Regions from separate parts of the Homo sapiens genome. Here region 2 is linked to region 1. The links are contacts of gene promoters, found by promoter capture Hi-C in blood cells and fetal thymus (Javierre and others, 2016). All regions are on one chromosome and are shown on one strand. The core of a region is centred on a gene start or on the middle of the fragment in contact, and the rest is flanking DNA. Distances in the headings are between cores, read along the strand shown.

Evidence for each region. The method cuts DNA at HindIII sites, captures the fragments that hold promoters and counts their contacts. A CHiCAGO score of 5 or more calls a contact.
Region 2: a fragment that was not itself captured here is called in contact with the fragment with the promoter of PPP4C in region 1 in 1 of 17 cell types (fetal thymus); the score reaches 6.1 in fetal thymus.

Annotation. Positions count from the first base shown.
Region 1 is chr16:30,074,417-30,077,600 of GRCh38, reverse strand. It overlaps PPP4C (protein phosphatase 4 catalytic subunit), which reads right to left and starts at 1,607. Exons shown (of 9, transcript NM_002720.3): 1 at 1,507-1,607; 2 at 1,126-1,286. The coding sequence starts at 1,223. RefSeq lists enhancers at 994-1,083, 2,706-2,885 and a silencer at 1,194-1,333. The HindIII fragment of the contact is 10,067 bases long and covers 1,026-3,184 here.
Region 2 is chr16:30,595,895-30,599,498 of GRCh38, reverse strand. No RefSeq gene overlaps it. Among named protein-coding and RNA genes, the nearest start is that of ZNF785, 12 kb to the right of the region's middle. The HindIII fragment of the contact is 4,017 bases long and covers 266-3,604 here.

The sequences.
Region 1 (3,184 bases), core at 358-2,857:
AGAAGCCACAATCACACAGTTCCCCAGAGGAGGCAGGTAATTAAACCCCTGACTGTTCCCCACGCATCTCAGGGCCTCCACTGTTACATTCGTCCTGCTTGGAATGCCCTTCCCTCACTGGCCCTGCCTCCATCAGCTAGCCAAATTATCTTCATCCTTCAAGGCCTACCTCCACTCAAAAGCCCTCCCTGATGGCTTTAGCCCATCTCATTATTGCCCTCTTCCAAAAGAAATAGAATACCTGGTGATTATCAAGCACGTATGCTGTACCAAAACACTGTGCTAACCTCATCTCCAGCACCAACTCACTGAATCTTCACAATCATCTTATTAAGTACTATTAATTCTGCTTTACAAATAAAGACACTTAAGATTACTAACACAGCTAGAAAGCGGCAGAGTTCAGATTCAAACCTAGAGCCATCTCACACTGCAAAACCTAGAGCCTTAACCACTACATCATCCTACTTCCCACAGAACTCTGAACTGGCCTCCCTATCGTGCTTAATTCTACCCTGGCTTACTTGCTACGATTTCTCAGGCTCCCACCCTGAACGTGAATGATCCAACTCCACCTTTTTGCATTATGGCCTGAAAAAGGACAGGACACTAAGAGCTGGCTTCAGACCCCATTCCTTACTTGTGGGTAACTTTGAACATGAAAGTTCCCACCTGTAAAATGAGTACAATACCACCAATCTTTAAGGGTTGTTGTAATTAGAAGACTTTTATAAATCACAGGGTCTTTAACTTTCCTGTCTTAAACTTTTGGTTTTTGGCTGACTCTTTTACCACCTCCTTATTCGAGGCCTCTCCCACAGTTCGGCCCCCCTCCAACAAGCTTCCGTCCCCCGACAGATGGACTTGTTTCCTTGAGTTTCCTAAGTACTTTATGTAACACTCTTACTCCACTGGAAACACATCGTCTAATAAACTTTAAGTGTCTTTATCCACTCTGTCTTCCCCGAGCAGGCTAGCTTTTCCTCGAGGGCAGCGGCTCCATCCTGCTCCTCTCTGGGAAAGCTTCCAGAACGAGGCAAGCCCAAAGTTCTCAGTTGGGTTTGCCCCAGGCCAGAACCCGTGGGCGGCGGCTTGGCCTCCCTTCCCCAGGGCCAACGAGCTCACCTGGCCTTAGCGCACAGGGCCTTGACTTCGCTCTCCTTGATGAGCTCGCAGCGACGCAGCTGCTCGATCTGCCGGTCCAGGTCGCTGATCTCCGCCATGGCCCACCCCCGGCGCGGGTCAGAGTCGGGGCCGCCGCCCCCTCCGCACCGCACAGGGGTCTCCTGGGAAAGGCCAAGACGAGCCCGCGGATCAGTGTCCGTCCGGGGCTCGGAGCGGACAACTCGATTCTAGAGCCGGCCCGGCTCCCCCACCCCCGCCTCCCCTCACATCGGCCCCAGGACCCCCCGGCGTCCAACGGCCTGGCCGCACCCCCGCTAACTCCCGTCGAACCCCGCGGTCCCGCGCTAAGGACGGTGACTTAGAGGAGTCTCGCACTATTACCGCCGCTGCGACTCCGGTTCCGGCTCTCCGGCTCCCTGCCTCCCTCTTTCACTCCGCTTTCGACCGCCGCCGCCGCCGCCGCCGCCGCTCCTACTTCCGGCCCCGCCGCGGAAGCAAAGGAGGCCAGTTCCGCCGCGCGCCGGATGTGGCGTCATACACGCTCCTCTCCTTTCGCAGCGACCCCTGCACCACTTCTCCAGCCTGAGATCGGGAAGGAGGTGGAGGAACCCGGTGGCGGCCAGTGGCAGTTTTGTGGGCTCTGCCGCTGGGCGATGTGGAGGCTATTAGAAACCCTAGACCAGTCCCCTCCCATATCATTTCATAAAAATGTTTAAACAACTGTCTTTTCTTTTTTTGAGACGGAGTTTTGCTGTTGCCCAGGCCGGGGTGCAATGGCACGAACTCGGCTCACCGCAACTTCCGCCTCCCGGGTTCCAGCAATTCTCCTGCCTCAGCCTCCTGAGTAGCTGGGATTACAGGCATGCGCTACCACGCTGGGCTAATTTTGTATTTTTAATAGAGACGGGGTTTCTCCATGTTGGTCAGGCTGGTCTCTAACTCCCTACCTCAGGTGATCCGCGCCCCCACCCACCACCACCCTTCGGCCTCCCAAAGTGCTGGGATTACAGGCGTGAGCCACCGCGCCCGGCCACAACTTTCTTTTTTCTAAATTAGAGACAGGGTCTCGCTCTATCGCTCAGGCTGGAGTCGGTGGGGCTATCATAGGTCACTGTGACCTCGAACTCCTGGGCACAAGCTATCTTCCCGCCTCGGGCCTCCCAAAGTGCTGGGATTACAGGCGTGAGCCACCGCGCCCGGCCATCCCCCATTTCAGCTAGGGAAACAAGCCGAGCTGGGGCTAGGCTTTGTAACTTTATTACACTTTTTTTTTTTAACATTACACTTTTTTTTTAATGTTACACATTTTTGTTACTTGTTTTGTCAGCCTTCCCCACCACAGTCCTTGGAGGATCCAACTTTGTCTTTTTAAATATTGCAGCCCCAGTGGTTAGAATAAGGCCTGGCACGGTAGGCATATATAGATACTTGTTAATACTTGTTCAATGGATGAGGGAAGCCAAGTTCAGATCTCTTCCTGTGCCGTCAGAGAAATATTTGCCGTGGACAACTTCAGAAGTTAACAGATTGGAGTCCACTTTTCCCACGCCAAGCCTGTGCCTCAGTCAGCATGACTTCTCTGATTCCAAAATGGCACTCTTGACATTTCTTAGTTGCTTCCGTTTTTCTTTTTGAGACAGAGTCTCACTCTCTCGCTCTGTCGCCCAGGCTGCAGTCCAGTGGCGCCATCTCGGCTCACTGCAAGCTCCGCCTCCCGGGTTCACGCCATTCTCTTGCCTCTGCCTCCTGAATAGCTGGGACTACAGGCGCCCGCCACCAGGCCCGGCTAATTTTTTTGTATTTTTTAGTGGAGACGGGGTTTCACCGTGTTAGCCAGGATGGTCTCGATCTCCTGACCTCATGATCCACCTGCCTCAGCCTCCCAAAGTGCTGTACCACAGGCGTGTACCACCGTGCCCGGCCTCTTTTTTTTTTTTTTTTTTTTTTTTTGAGACGGAGTCTTGCTTTTTCACCCCGACTGGAGTGCAGTGGCACAATCTCGGCTCACTGCAACCTCCGCCTCCCAGGTTCAAGCGATTCTCCTGCCTCAGCCTCCCAA
Region 2 (3,604 bases), core at 1,025-3,524, 520 kb before region 1:
TTTGAGACCAGCCTGGCCAACGTGGTGAAACCCCGTCTCTACTAAAAATACAAAATTAGCCAGGTGGTGGCACACACCTGTAATCCCAGCTACTTGGGAGGCTGAGGCAGGAGAATTGCTTGAACCTGGGAGGTGGAGGTTGCAGTAAGCTGAGATCGCACCATTGCTCTCCAGCCTGGGCAACAAAAGTAAGACTATCTAAACAAACAAACAAACAAACAAAAAACCAAAACAAACAAACAAAAAAACCCTGCACCCTAAAGCTTGGGTGAACTTCTCTGTTTGGGAACAATCAGCACCTGTTGTCAAAAATCATTGCAGGGAGAAAAAAGCACGTCCCTGTGATACCCCACTGGGAGTAGACACCTGAAAGTTTGTGCCCGGTTGCATCCGGATTTTGTCCCATGTACCTTATCCCTTTGATGATTTTAAATCTGTGTCGTTTTGCTTTAATAAACCATAAATGTAAGTATAACCAATAAATAAAAATAAATAAGCAAAGCCCTTGCCACTCATTACCCAGAACAATTCTCAGGAGTGTTGGCAGCAAGCAAACCTTGAGGGAGAGGTAATGTCTGCATCCAGGACAAAGAGCAGCTTCCTTACTGCTTACTATAAAACAGCAGATGGCTGGGCATGGTGGCTCACAACTGTAATCCCAGAACTTTTGGTGGCCAAGGCAGGAGGATTGCTTGAGGCCAGGAGTTTGAGACTACCCTGGCCAACATAGCAAGACCCCATCTTATTTATTTATGTATTTATTTAGAGAAGGAGTCTCACTCTTGTCACCCAGGCTGGAGTGCAGTGGCGTGATCTTGGCTCACTGCAACCTCCACCTCCTGGGTTCAAGCAACTTTCCTGCCTCAGCCTCCCAAGTAGCTGGGATTACACTCACCTGCCACCATGCCCAGCTAATTTTAGTATTTTTGTAGAGACAGGGTTTCACCATGTTGGTCAGGCTGGTCTCGAACTCCTGACCTCAGGTGATCTGCCTGCCTTGGCCTCCCAAAGTGCTGGGATTACAGGCGTGAGCCACCGCTCCCAGCCAAATCCCATCTTTAAAAAGGAAAAAAACAGCAGGAGCTTCCTGTTCCTCCCCTATGATGCAACTCACTGTGTGTCTAGCATCCATCTGGGCACATCCCACATTGCCCCTGCAGGGGGCAGAAGGGAACCAATGCAGGCATGCTCATGCTGCTTGTTGTGCCCTGAACAGTAAGGTCTTTTGTCTCTGTTTTCTGACAGCATCCATGAAACAATAACAGACCCATTTATTAACCTATAAGTAGGGCAGCCTCAAATTCCAGATCTGACTGTAGGTATTGTTTTCCTTGACCAGATGAGGAAACAGAGGCACAGTGACATTAAATAGCTTGTCGACCGGGCACAGGGTGCACGCCTATAATCCCAGCACTTTGGGAGGCCGAGGCGGGTGGATCACCTGAGGTCAGGAGTTCGAGACCGGTCTGACCAACATGGTGAAATCCCGTCTCTACTAAATGCAAAAACATAGCCAGGCATGGTGGCACATGCCTGTAATCTCAACTACTTGGGAGGCTGAGGCAGGAGAATCACTTGAACCCGGGAGGCAAAGGTTGCAATGAGCCGAGATTGCGCCATTGCACTCCAGCCTGGGCAACAAGAGCAAAACTCCATCTCAAAAAATTTAAAAAAAAATAAATAACTTGTCCAGGATCACATATCTGGGTGACTGTAAAGTCAGCTGCCATGCAATTATTCTAAGACTGTCCTTTAAGATAACTGATGACCTAGTTAACAAATCAGTGCTTCAATTTTTATCTTACATACCTTAGTTTTCCTACTTAAGCTCTCTTGTAACTTAGCTTTCATGCCCCGCATTCTTCTAGTCTTCCTGGTGCCGCTTGTGGCTTCTGCTAGTGCGTACATGTGAGAATTCCTTCCCAGCAAGAAAGAGTCTTGCTCTGTGGCCCAGGCTGGAGTGCAGTTGTGTGATCATGGCTCACTGCAGCTTCTACTTCCCTGAGCTCAAGTGATCCTCCTGCTTCAGCCTCCTGAGTAGTTGGGACCACAGGCATGTGCCACCACACCCAACTAATTTTTTTGTATTCTTTGTAGGGATGAGGTTTCTCCATGTTGCCCAGGCTGGTCTCGAACTCCTGGGCTCAAGCAATCCTCCTGCCTTGGCTTCCTAGAGTGCTGGGATTACAGGTGTGGGCCACCTCGCCCGGCCTTATGTTTTTTCCAAATCCCAAAAATAATCAGTAAAGAAATTGGGAAAATGCAAAAAAGTGATAATTATTTATTATTTGTTTGTTTGTGTGTTTATTCATTTATTATTTTTGAGATAGAGTCTTACTCTGTTGCCCAGGCTGGAGTGCAACGGCAAGATCTCGGCTCACTGCAACCTCTGTCTCCTAGGTTCAAGCAATTCTCCTGCCTCAGCCTCCCAAGTAGCTAGGATTACAGGCGTGCGCCACCACGCCCGGCTAATTTTTTTTTTTTTTTGTATTTTTAGTAGAGATGGGGTTTCACCATGTTGGCCAGGCTGGTCTTGAACTCCTGATCTCAGGTGATTCACCTGCCTCAGCCTCCCAAAGTGCTGGGATTACAGGCGTGAGTCACCACGCCCAGCTCATCTGTATATCTTCTTTGGAGAAATGTCTATATAAATCCTATGCCTGCTTTCATCTTTTTTTTTTTTAATTCTTTTTTTGAGTGGTGTCTTGCTCTGTTGCCCAGGTTGGAATGCTGTGGTGCCATTTTGGCTCACTGCACCCTCCACCTCCCAGGCTCAAGTGATTTTCATGCCTTAGCCTCCTGAGTAGCTGGGATTACAGGTCTGTGCCACAATGCCGGCTAATTTTTGTATTTTTAGCAGAAATGGAGTTTCATCATCTCTGTTGGCTAGGCTGGTCTCGAATTTCTGGCCTCAAGTGATCTGCCTGTCTTGGCCTCCCAAAGTGCTGGGATGACAGTGTGAGCCACCGTGCCCAGCCTCTTTGCCTGCTTTTAAATTGGGTTTTTATTTTTTAGTGGTTGTTGAGTTACCGGAGTTATTTATAAATTCTGAATATTAATCCCTTATTAGACACATGATTTACAAATATTTTCTCCCATTCTGTGGAGTGTCTTTTCATTCTCAATAGTGGTTTTGCTTTTTTTTTTCTTTTGAGATGAAGTCTCACTCCATTGCCCAGGCTGGAGTGCAATGGTGCGATCTTGGCTCACTACAACCTTCACTTCCCAGGTTCAAGCGATTCTCGGGCCTCAGCCTCCCAGAGTAGCTGGGATTACAGGCATGAGCTACCATGCCCAGCTAATTTTTGTATTTTTAGTAGAGATGGAGTTTCACAATGTTGGCCAGGCTGGTCTCAAACTCCTGACCTTAGGCGATCCACCTGCCTCAGACTCCCAAAGTGCTAGGAGTACAGGTGTGAGCCACTGCACCCAGCCACCATTCATTTTAAAAGTTTTGAAAGACACAGTAAAGTTGAAGGACTTTTACAGAGAATACCCATATACTCACCACCTAGATTCTATCACTAACATTTAGTGTATCTGCTTTATCATGTAACTATCAGTTACTCTACCAGTACACTTTGTTTTTGGGTGCATGTAAAAA